Linked DNA regions of Homo sapiens: region 1 is linked to region 2. Evidence: promoter capture Hi-C in human tissues and cell types (Jung and others, 2019). All regions are on one chromosome and are shown on one strand. The core of a region is centred on a gene start or on the middle of the fragment in contact, and the rest is flanking DNA. Distances in the headings are between cores, read along the strand shown.

Region 1 (5,277 bases), core at 82-2,581, 430 kb after region 2:
CTGAGGTTGATGATTCCCCAAAATGTAAGGACCCCACTGATCTTTGAGGAGTCATTAGCAGTGAGAATTCTCAGGTGAGCTTCTGCTGAAAAAATTCTTCTGCTTTCTGAGTGGTAAGATTTTCAGGCACCAGCACACTGCCTGGGGACCCTTCTGTTGCCGACTCTTCTGTTGCTCTCCATTCACTTTGTATAGGGTTTCCAACACTGATTCATTCCTGCCATCATCTCAGGTGACTGTGGCACTCACACAAAGGTTGAAGCAGCTTAGTGTAGTAGTGGAAAGATTCCTGGGATTTGTGAGAGGGGGACGGTCCTGACTCTGCTCCAGGTGAGCTGTGTGTCCTTGGACCACTTCTTCTCTGGGCCTCATTTTTCTGCGTTTGTAAATGACGGGTTTCGATAAGATAGTCTACAGGGTTCCTTTTTTAATTTTTAATTTTTTTTTTTTGAGACAGAGTCTCATTATGTTGCCTACGTTGGTCTGGAACTCCTGGGCTCAAGTGACCCTCCCTCCTCAGCCTCCCAAAGTGCTGGGATTACTGGCGTGAGCCACTGCGTCTGGCCCAGGGTTCCTTTCAGCTCCAGAATGTGATGTTCCTAAAATGGGCAACGTTATTGTTACCACGTTATGTTGATTCTGGTGAAAGAAGGGAGTTGATGAAACTATGCAGTTGGCTTAAATGGATTAAGAAACAGTTTCTTACTCATTTTTGTCCTGTTCATTGTTCACTGAGAATGTGTGTGTTTCTTCTCCAGCGAATAGCTAAAGAAAGGCAAAAGCAGTATAACTGCCTGACACAGCGGATTGAACGAGAGAAGAAATTGTTCGTTATTGCTCAGAAAATTCAAACACGCAAAGATCTTATGGTGAGGAGAGAGAGCCTTAGGCCTCTTTTTTTTTTTTTCCCCCTTTTCTTTCTTGTAAAGGTCTTAACTCAGACTAGATTTCAGCTGTGTGTAAATCAACCCCAGTGAAAATGTCTGCTCCTCAGGGGCAGTGGTTTGAGCCAGTGTCTGTTACTCTGACAGTGTTGAAATGCGCCTTGATTAAGGAGGTAATAAGGGGGTTATTAGTCAGTGCTTTGGAACAGCAAAGGGTAGGATCGGGTAGCATATGAACTTTATAGCTTATGAGCAGCTCCCGTAACATTTAAACAGGTTAACAAAACAGTGCATGTCACTCATTGGTGTTTAAAAATAGACAACATTGTGTAGTTAAATAGCAGAGCTGAGGAATATAAGATGCCTCTTTCATATTCTTATCATTCCTCTAAATGTCAAATTCTTTAGCTTTGTAGATCATTTAGGTCAGCCTTTCTCAACTGGGGTTCCGTGAGAGAATTAAAATTATAATTTTAAATGAAACAACTACTTGAACACCTTTCTTCTCAGTTTTCCTAGGACTGTACACAGCTAGTACTTTCTAGATGCCTAGGGGAGAAGTTAATTCATTGCCTACAGTGGATGCCTTGGGCAGTAGGGCTGTGTCCGTTCTCAACTTTGAGAAGGGCTGAAGCAGGTGCTAATAGGTAGTTTATTAACCTTTCGATTTTACAAAACCATTTCCTTCTCTTTACTGATCACCTTTTTACTCTTTTGTAGGATAAAACTCAGAAAGTGAAGGTGAAGAAAGAAACGGTGAACTCCCCAGCTATTTATAAATTTCAGAGTCGTCGAAAACGTTGACGTGTTATAGATAAGCCTTGTCATTCTGTATCAAAAATCTGTTGTCGTTTTCTAGTAACTTCAAATTCCATTACTCCAAATGGCATGGTTTTCCGGTTTGTAACCATAACTAAATTGTCAGTCTGACATTTAATGTCTTTCTATGGACAACATTAAATCTCCCTCCCTTCTGTAATTGTTTTTGGATTGTGAAATTAGTCTTATTTTTATATACTTAATTTTTTTTTTCTTTGAGATAGGGTCTTTGTTGCCAGGCTGGAAGTGCAGTGTGTGATTATGGCTCACTGCAACTTTGAACTCCTGGGCTCAAGTGATCTTCCTGCATCAGCCTCTTGAGTAGCTGGGACCACAGACATGTGCCACCATGTCTGAGTAATGTTTAAATTTTCTGTAGAGACCAGGTTTTGCCATGTTGGCCAGGCTGGTTTTGAACTCGTGGCCTCAAGCGATCCTCCCACCTTGGCCTCCCAAAGGGCTGGGATTACAGGGATGAGCCACTATGCCCAGCCCATAATTTTTTTTGTTATGAAACATAGGATCTCATTACAGCAGATTTGGAAAGTAGATTAATTCATTCCTAATCCCAGTGCTTATTCAATAATAACAAATATTTATTGCATGCTTAACTGTGCTAGGAGCTAGAGCTGTGGAGGTGGACAATTACTGTGAGTAGTCTAGTTGATTTCCTCCATTTTGTAAAACGAGGCATCACTTTTTGTCCATGTTTTTGTGTTTTATAGTTACAGTAAACAATTTGATGTCCTACTTTTTTTTTTTTTTTTTTTGAGACGGAGTCTCGCTCTGTCGCCCAGGCCGGACTGCGGACTGCAGTGGCGCAATCTCGGCTCACTGCAAGCTCCGCTTCCCGGGTTCACGCCATTCTCCTGCCTCAGCCTCCCGAGTAGCTGGGACTACAGGCGCCCGCCACCGCGCCTGGCTAATTTTTTTTTGTATTTTTTTAGTAGAGACGGGGTTTCACCTTGTTAGCCAGGATGGTCTCGATCTCCTGACCTCATGATCCACCCGCCTCGGCCTCCCAAAGTGCTGGGATTACAGGCGTGAGCCACCGCGCCCGGCCGATGTCCTACTTTTTAATTAAATCATTAGCTCTTTCCCAGTTTGTTACATCACAAAAGTTTTTTACAGTAATATATGCTAGAGTAAACGTTAAAATAAATATTATTTTTAATGATTGCATAGTGTTTTATCTAGTGGATAGACTGATTTTACCCTCACTCATTCTTCTTTTATTGGCTATTCAGGTGGCTTCATAAATTATCCAAGGAGGAATTTTTTTCTCTTACTTAACAGCTGCAGATAGAAACTCTTGGAACAAGGAACCTACGGGAGCACCTCTTCCTTATTGATGAAGCTCAAATCAGTATAGGCCTGGCTGTGTCTCTGTCCTCTGCACTCCATGCCAACTCACAATTCCAAGGCTAGAATAGCTTGGTGCAGACCTTCACTCTGGGAATATGGACCCCTGGGTGTGTTGGCCAGCTTCTTTCTCTTCTCTGGTTCTCTCCTTCCTTTGTTTGCCCATATCAGGATTATAGGCCAAGGACAGTAAGGACAGGACTGAACATGCTTAGAGCAAACATGGGAGAACAGGGAGCGGGGTTCTGGGGGGCTTGCGTAGCCCTTACACCAAGGAGGGAGAACAGCCATGTGTGGATTGTAAGGCTTTAAAAGAAAATTGTTAATGCTTAATAAGTGCCCATGACTGTGAGCTTCCTGTACAAGCCTAGACTAGAAGCCTGTTTCCTCAGGGTGTACCCAGTGGAATTTAAATCAGGGGCCCTGGAAAACAGCAAGAAGGGTCAGGAAACAGAAACCAGTAGGTTTTGCCTTCAGGAAGGAAATGCTTCCCATTGTGTGTATGCACTCCCTTCTGGGGAGGTGCTGAGCTCAGTCAATGCTGAAAGTTTTAGAGACTTGAGGATCAAACCAGGGAAGGGACTCATCATAGTGATACTAGACAGGGGAGTGAGCAGACTAAGCAGCAGTCTGATCCTGGGGTCAAACAGCTGGATGCTGCTGCTCCGTCTCTTGCCCCTGCTGGGTGGGAAAGTGGGGGAGAGGATAGGGAATAGACCTAAATGCCTTCTCACGAACCACACACCCACATGAAGGTAGGCTCGCCTCATGGAATCTCATGTTCACAGATGCACAAGGCACATATAACTCAGGCCTCATAAACAGGTACAGGCATACCTACACACCGTCTGGCACAGGAGCACAAACAGTGACGTTTGAAGAGCCACACTCCCAGGCCAAATGGAGCAGGAAAGTGCATCCTTTTGGTGTACTGTGAGTTCCAGGCTGAAGGTAATCGGAGTGCTGTAAGGGGAGCTGGGTGTTCTGAATTGCTGTTACACTGAGTGCTGTCTCCAAGACTCAAGGATTTTAAGCAAAGAGATTGGCTGTCCCTGTGACTAAGCAAAGACAGGCCCCAGCCCCATGTATTCTGAGAATTGGCCAGGGCTTTGCCGCTTTGGTACTCAGTGGGACCCTAGACTCTTGGCTTGTTGGGGAGGGAAGAGTATTGTTTGCTTAGCCGCCCTTTTTGGCCTAGGGGTGATTTGGGCTGTTGGTGGCATACTGCTCTAGCTGTGCCAAGGGGGCTGTGGGCAGCCTATGGAGCTGGAGGGATTTTCTGAGTCAGGACTTGTTTGGCTCAGGTCTCTTGTACAAACCAAGTCTCCAAACAGCAGTTCTATGGTGATGTGGACCCTTCAGGTCTGTCCAACAGAGAATTCAGTAAGCCTGGCTCAGTCTTAGTCTGTTGCTGCATCCTAGGGCCCTTCCCACCAAAGCAGGAGAGTGTCAAGCCCTAGCTTTATTCTTGAATAAGTTCATCTTTTTCTTTGAGACAGAGTCTTGCTCTGTCACCCAGGCTGGAGTGCAGTGGCGCGATCTTGGTTCACAGCAACCTCCGCCTCCTGGGTTCAAGCGATTCTCTTGCCTCAGCCTCTCTAGTAGCTGGAATTACAGGCGCAGAGACGGGGTTTCGCCATGTTGGCCAGGCTGGTCTCGAACTCCTGATCTCAGGCGATCCACCTCTCCTTGGCTTCTCAAAGTGCTGGGATTACAGGCATGAGCCACTGCTCCTAGCCAATCTTTTTCTGATTTCTAACTGCTTCCTGGTGCCAGGGTGGAAAAGGGCCCAGCAGGTGGAGCTGCTGCCCCTTTGCTGGGATTCCTTCTCAGGGACTTGGTGTCCACCCACCCAGCACACTTGTCTTCTTTCAAAAGTGTCCTTGTACTTAGGAAGTACTTGCATGTGTTTGCTTATTGAATTTAATGCTAGGGGGGAGAGCTCCCATGAAGAAATGGGATTTTCTCACCCTGAGTTTGAGATGAGTGTGGCCCCAGGAGGAAGACTGGGCAGGAAGGTGCTTTTCCTTCCTGTTTCTAGTGAGGACCATGCAGGGAGGTCTCTGTCACATAGCCCCAAGTTTCCCATAGGGTGGTTCCACCCAGACCTGGGAGGGGTCTCCCTCCGTGCAGCTTTAAGCATCTGTTTGTCGCTCACTGTCCTCTCCCCCATGCTGCTGACGGTGGGGCACTGAGCAGTTAGAGCTGCACG
Region 2 (5,026 bases), core at 919-3,418:
CCTTTTGCCTATACATATTCAGGCGCCGGATGGTGGCCCGGTCCCTCATGTTTTGGCCTCCTGCTCCCTGCACTCGATCTACAAAAGGCAGAAGTACACAGTGCACTATTTGATAACCAACCAGTATAACCAACAAGTCATTGCTTAAAATGCAACAAGTAGTTCACCCAAATTAGGTAAGAAGCCACCAACCACAAAAATCTCTACTTTCTCCATATGTTGCTCCAATAATTAGTACTTGAAGCTACATGGTATGACAAAGCTGACCCAATCTTTGATCTTCGATAGGATTGTATTTGAGAAGAATAGCTAATATTTTTGAGCACTTATGATGGCACTGTGTTATCCAAATTATAGGCATCATCTGATTTAATCTATACAATAATCCTATAGATATATTATCCCCATGCTGCGGAGTGAGAAACTGAGGCACAGTGGTCAGACACCTTGCCCAAGGTCAAACCGTTACTAAATGGCAGAGCCAGAATTTGTACATGAGCATTTGATCACCATCTATGGTCTTAACCACGAAGATACCTACCTCTGTGTCTCAGTTTAACAAATATTGAGTGCCTGCTCCATGCAAGGCACCATGGAGACTATAATTTTGATATATGTGTTCTTACTTTCTTAATGTTTGATTTTTGTTTAATCAACACAGCAATTCTTGCCTTACATCTCAAAGAGAAAGAGAAGGACAAACGAATAGGGTAATACTAGCCTAGCTTCTCATTTTGGGAGCCCTTTATTTACCTATTTATTCATTTATTCATTATTATTATCTTTTTTTTGAGACAGAGTCGTGCTCTGTCACCCAGGCTGGAGTGCAGTGTCGCGATCTCAGCTCACTACAACCTCCACCTCCCCGGTTCATGCAATTCTTCCACCTCAGCCTCCCGAGTAGCTGGGATTACGGGCATCCGCCATCATGCCCGGCTAATCTTTGTATTTTTGTAGAGAGGGGGTTTCATCATGTTGGTCAGGCTGGTCTTGAACTCCTGACCTCGGGTGATCCGACCGCCTCGGCCTCCCAAAGTGCTGGGATTACAGGCGTGAGCCACCACACCTGGCCAGGAGCCCCTTAAATCACCTGTCTGGTCCTGAAGTGATACAGTAGAAGACAGGCTGAAACCACAGCCCATTGGCTCTCCTAACAGTCTCTAACAGTAGAAACTGGCGGCTCTACTACTACTCACTAACTGTTGCAATTATGACAGGCCACTTCCTGTATTTTGATTCAGTCTCTTCACCTGTAAAATCATAATCTCTAAGGGCCTTTTGGGGTCTAACATTCTGAGATTCCAGTTTGTGCAAAGTGAATAATTTATTATCAATCCGGAATAAACATTCAACTTGCATTAAAATTGTCAAAAATTCTAAACCATATTTTAAAACAAAGTTTTATTAATTAAACCTGAATGGAAGGAACTCTCCCATAGGATGTCTTGTTAATCGTACAGGTGGAACCTCGCCAAAACTTACACACATCTCCTAAACAGCCTTACTGCAATGATCATACTGACTTCTTTGTAGGGTTCTCTAAGCACTTTACCAGATAGAATAATTCCAAGGGCCAAAACTATAAGCCCTTTCTCATTTTAAAGGTCAAAGCTAAGGTGGCAGGCAAGTATGATCACGTGTAAAAGGCCCGAAGGGTCAACCTACACCATTTTTAATCTGACTTTCTCTGCATCTCTCAACTGGAGAGGACCCAAGGCTGTCAGCCTGAGTGTTCACTTTCCTTGACTTCAGACCAGTTGACTACACTTTGGCCTGCCAGGCGTGCACTGAGCCCTCCTCAGTTCCCCCCTGAGAAGAAACCACCACAAATATTGCTTTCCTTTTTCCCTTTTCATCCCCAACAGCCACCCCGCTCGTAGTCATTCTAAGCAATGCCACTCGAGTAACCCTCCTTCCCCTCCAGTGCTCCTCGGAGCCCTTCCCTATACTTCCTCCAAGCTCCACCCTCGATCAGCCCTGCCGCCTGTACCTGGGTTTGTGCTGGCCTTGGACGGGTTGATGGTGCTCCGTCCTTTGTACTTGGGCTTCACCATCTTGGCGACGAGACCGGGACCGGAGTGCGAGGTCCGGCTTACGTGGTGAAACAAACTTTTATGTTCCCAAGCCCGGCCGAAGACACCCGCCTGAACCACGCCGGACCACGTGTGCACGACGTACGTCACTTCCGCTCGCGTCCCTCTCGGCCTCAGAGCGACTTCCTGTGAACGCGCGGCGCGCGCCGTCACCCTCCTGGCTCCGCCCCCGCTCCAGCCGCCTAGGCGTCGCCCTGCGTGGAGCCCCAGCCCGCTCCAGCCCTAGCAACCGCCAAGCTGCCCGTTCATAGCAACCGCCTAGTTAACCTGAACGCGCGGCCAGAGCTCCCAGTTGGGTCCACCTCCGAATAAAGAAGCTTCTTCCCAGGCCAGTGGCACAAGCTTAAGTTTGTCTTCTGAATTTGTCTTCTAAGTCCTTCCAAAAGTTGCCGACCACACAGCAGCCAAATATCCGTTAGGAGGTGTCATTCTCTTCCTTACAACTCCAGTGGCTTATCATCACTCTTAGAATGAGAGGTAGGGGAAGGGAGAAGGGAGAAACAGACAGAGACAGAGATTGATTCAAACTTTTTGCCATCCCTACAGGATTCTGTGATCTGGCCCCTGCCTGCCTATTTATCTAATCTCATGTGTACGTCCCTCCCTCTGGTTATTCTGACATTTACACTGGATATTCTCTCTGCCTGAATCACTCTTTCCCAGAATCTTTGCATAGCTGTCATTCAATCCTAAGCTCAAATATCACCTATTGGTAGGCCTGCAAGAATTAGCAAATAGAAATACAGGACACCAAATTAAATTAGAATTTCAGAGAAAAAAAATGAATACTTTTCTTTAGTACACCTCCAACAGTGCCTGGAAAATACTTAGACTAAAAAAGTATTCATCGTTTGCCTGAAATTCAAATGTAACTGTACGTTCTGTATTTTATCTGGTGACCCTTCCTGCTGTGAGAACTCATTCCTGTCTAATTTGTCTAAATCAGCCACCTTTCACCCTTTCACAGTTATTCTGTTACAGTATTCTGTTTTATTTATTTCATGGCATTTATCACTAGTTGAATTTTTTTTACAAGTTTATTGGCTGCTTCCCCCAAACTAGAATGTAAGATTCTTAAAAGCAGGGACCTTGTTAATTTGTTCACTGCTGTGTCTTTAAGACTTGAATAGCATCTGAAACAAAGGACTCAAAAAATATTCATTAAGTGAAAGAATGAGTAGATGGGAATGTCTCTTGCCTTGAGGATGAAGGAAGGCATTAAGACCCAGTGATTTCTGTTTCTACTAGCCAGAATAAAGTGTCTAGATGCCAGTGTTTGAACCAAGAAGCCCTCTCTCTTTTTACAATTTATTTTTTGTTTGTTTGTTTTTGTTTTTGTTTTTTGAGACGGAGTCTCGCTCTTGTTGCCCAGGCTGGAGTGCAGTGGCCCGGTCTCGGTTCACTGCAACCTCCACCTCCCGGGTTCAAGCAATTCTCCTGCCTCAGCCTCCCAAGTAGCTGAGATTACAGGCGCATGGTATCATGCCCAGCTAATTTTTGTATTTTTAGTAGAGACGGGCTTTCACCACATTGGCCAGGCTGGTCTCAAACTCCTGACCTCAGGTGATCCACCTGCCTCAGCCTCCCAAAGTGCTGGGATTACAAGTGTGAGCCACCTCGCCTGGTCCCTCTCTCTTTTTTGGTACCTCAAATTGTCAGAAAATGGCCATCTTTGTACCCTCTGGATAGGCCAAAGAAGAGATGGTTAGGCAAGAGGAAGGGTGGATTCATGCAGTGTAGCTCATTTCATAAAAACAAACAATTTGTTATAAAGTGAGGTATTCTAATTGAGCAGGGGATGATTGAGTCTTTATTTCTCTGAGTTTGAAACAAACCCCAAAACATTCTCTTTAGAGCAAAAGCAGGCCATGTCATAGGCTAGAGCTGGAAATACCTTCTGTCCCTCAAGCTTCGCTTTTATTGCCCCAAGGGCAAGTATCATGAGATTAAATGCAGCTCTGCTGGGAAGGCCCTGACTGTGACCTGTGTTAGGGAAGCTCTGAGAGCTATTTGGAAAAAACTTCATGATCAGTGAAGATGCCCCCTTCCACCCCACACTGTCCCTCTGATCCCCAAAACAAGGATACCATAGCCTCCTCCCAGAGAGAAGATTCAGTTAATGTGTTTCTGATGCCTCAAGTTGGTGCAAACCAGAATAAACACGGATGGCAAAAATCAGCCTATGAGCTCATTCAGGCTTTGATCAGAGACATAATTTCATTATGAAATTTTGAATCAGGCTGTTGTGAAGTCTTGCCAAGGAGTTTCATTTTCCCAGATGATATGGTGGGTTGTTTCTCTCCTGTTCTCATACTCTGCTTGCATTTATCTTACAAACTTTCCATCTATTTTTATAATCTGACCCATCAATCCTTTTACAACAATATTTGCCGATCTCGACAACCAACTTCAATTCTACCAGCAGATAAAAAGCCTGATCAAGGTAAGTCAAGCTTAAGTTACTGGTTTGATTTGCCTGCCCTGCTTGCCGCATTGTAATGCAGTGACTATTTTTCACTCTCTTTTCTGATGTCATGCCAACTAGCAGAGGCAAGATACACCTCCAGGTCTACAGTTCCTCAGCTTTAAAACAGATGCAATAGCTTAACTACTCTGAAAGACTGCAATAAGATCATATGAGTTACAGTATATGAAAGCATCGCAGACATGGTACACATCATGCAGATGGGATGCTTTCTATTTTTCTTCTTTTTTTTTTTTTTTTTTTTGAGATGGAGTCTTGCCCTTTCACCAGGCTGGAGTGCAGTGGCATGATCTCAGCTCACTGCAAACTCTGCCTCCTAGATTCAAGCTATTCTCATGCCTCAGCCTCCCAAGTAGCTGGGATTACAGGCACGCACCACCATGCCCAGCTAATTTTTGTGTTTTTAGTAGAGACGGGGTTTCGCCATGTTGGCCAGGCTGGTCTCAAT

Evidence for each region. Contacts are between HindIII fragments. The study calls those that stand out against the background at their distance.
Region 1: a contact is called between a fragment that was not itself captured here and the fragment with the promoter of GNL2 in region 2, in 1 of the 25 tissues and cell types used here (hippocampus).

What each region holds. Positions count from the first base shown.
Region 1 is chr1:38,021,941-38,027,217 of GRCh38, forward strand. UTP11 (UTP11 small subunit processome component) reads left to right here. Exons shown (of 8, transcript NM_016037.4): 7 at 759-869; 8 at 1,605-2,880. The coding sequence ends at 1,688. Among named protein-coding and RNA genes, the nearest start is that of UTP11, 12 kb to the left of the region's middle. RefSeq lists enhancers at 4,163-4,662, 4,829-5,277. The HindIII fragment of the contact is 9,293 bases long and covers 1-5,277 here.
Region 2 is chr1:37,593,769-37,598,794 of GRCh38, forward strand. It overlaps GNL2 (G protein nucleolar 2), which reads right to left and starts at 2,169. Exons shown (of 16, transcript NM_013285.3): 1 at 1,991-2,169; 2 at 1-78. The coding sequence starts at 2,054. RefSeq lists enhancers at 1,668-1,727, 1,898-2,087. The HindIII fragment of the contact is 8,299 bases long and covers 1-3,218 here.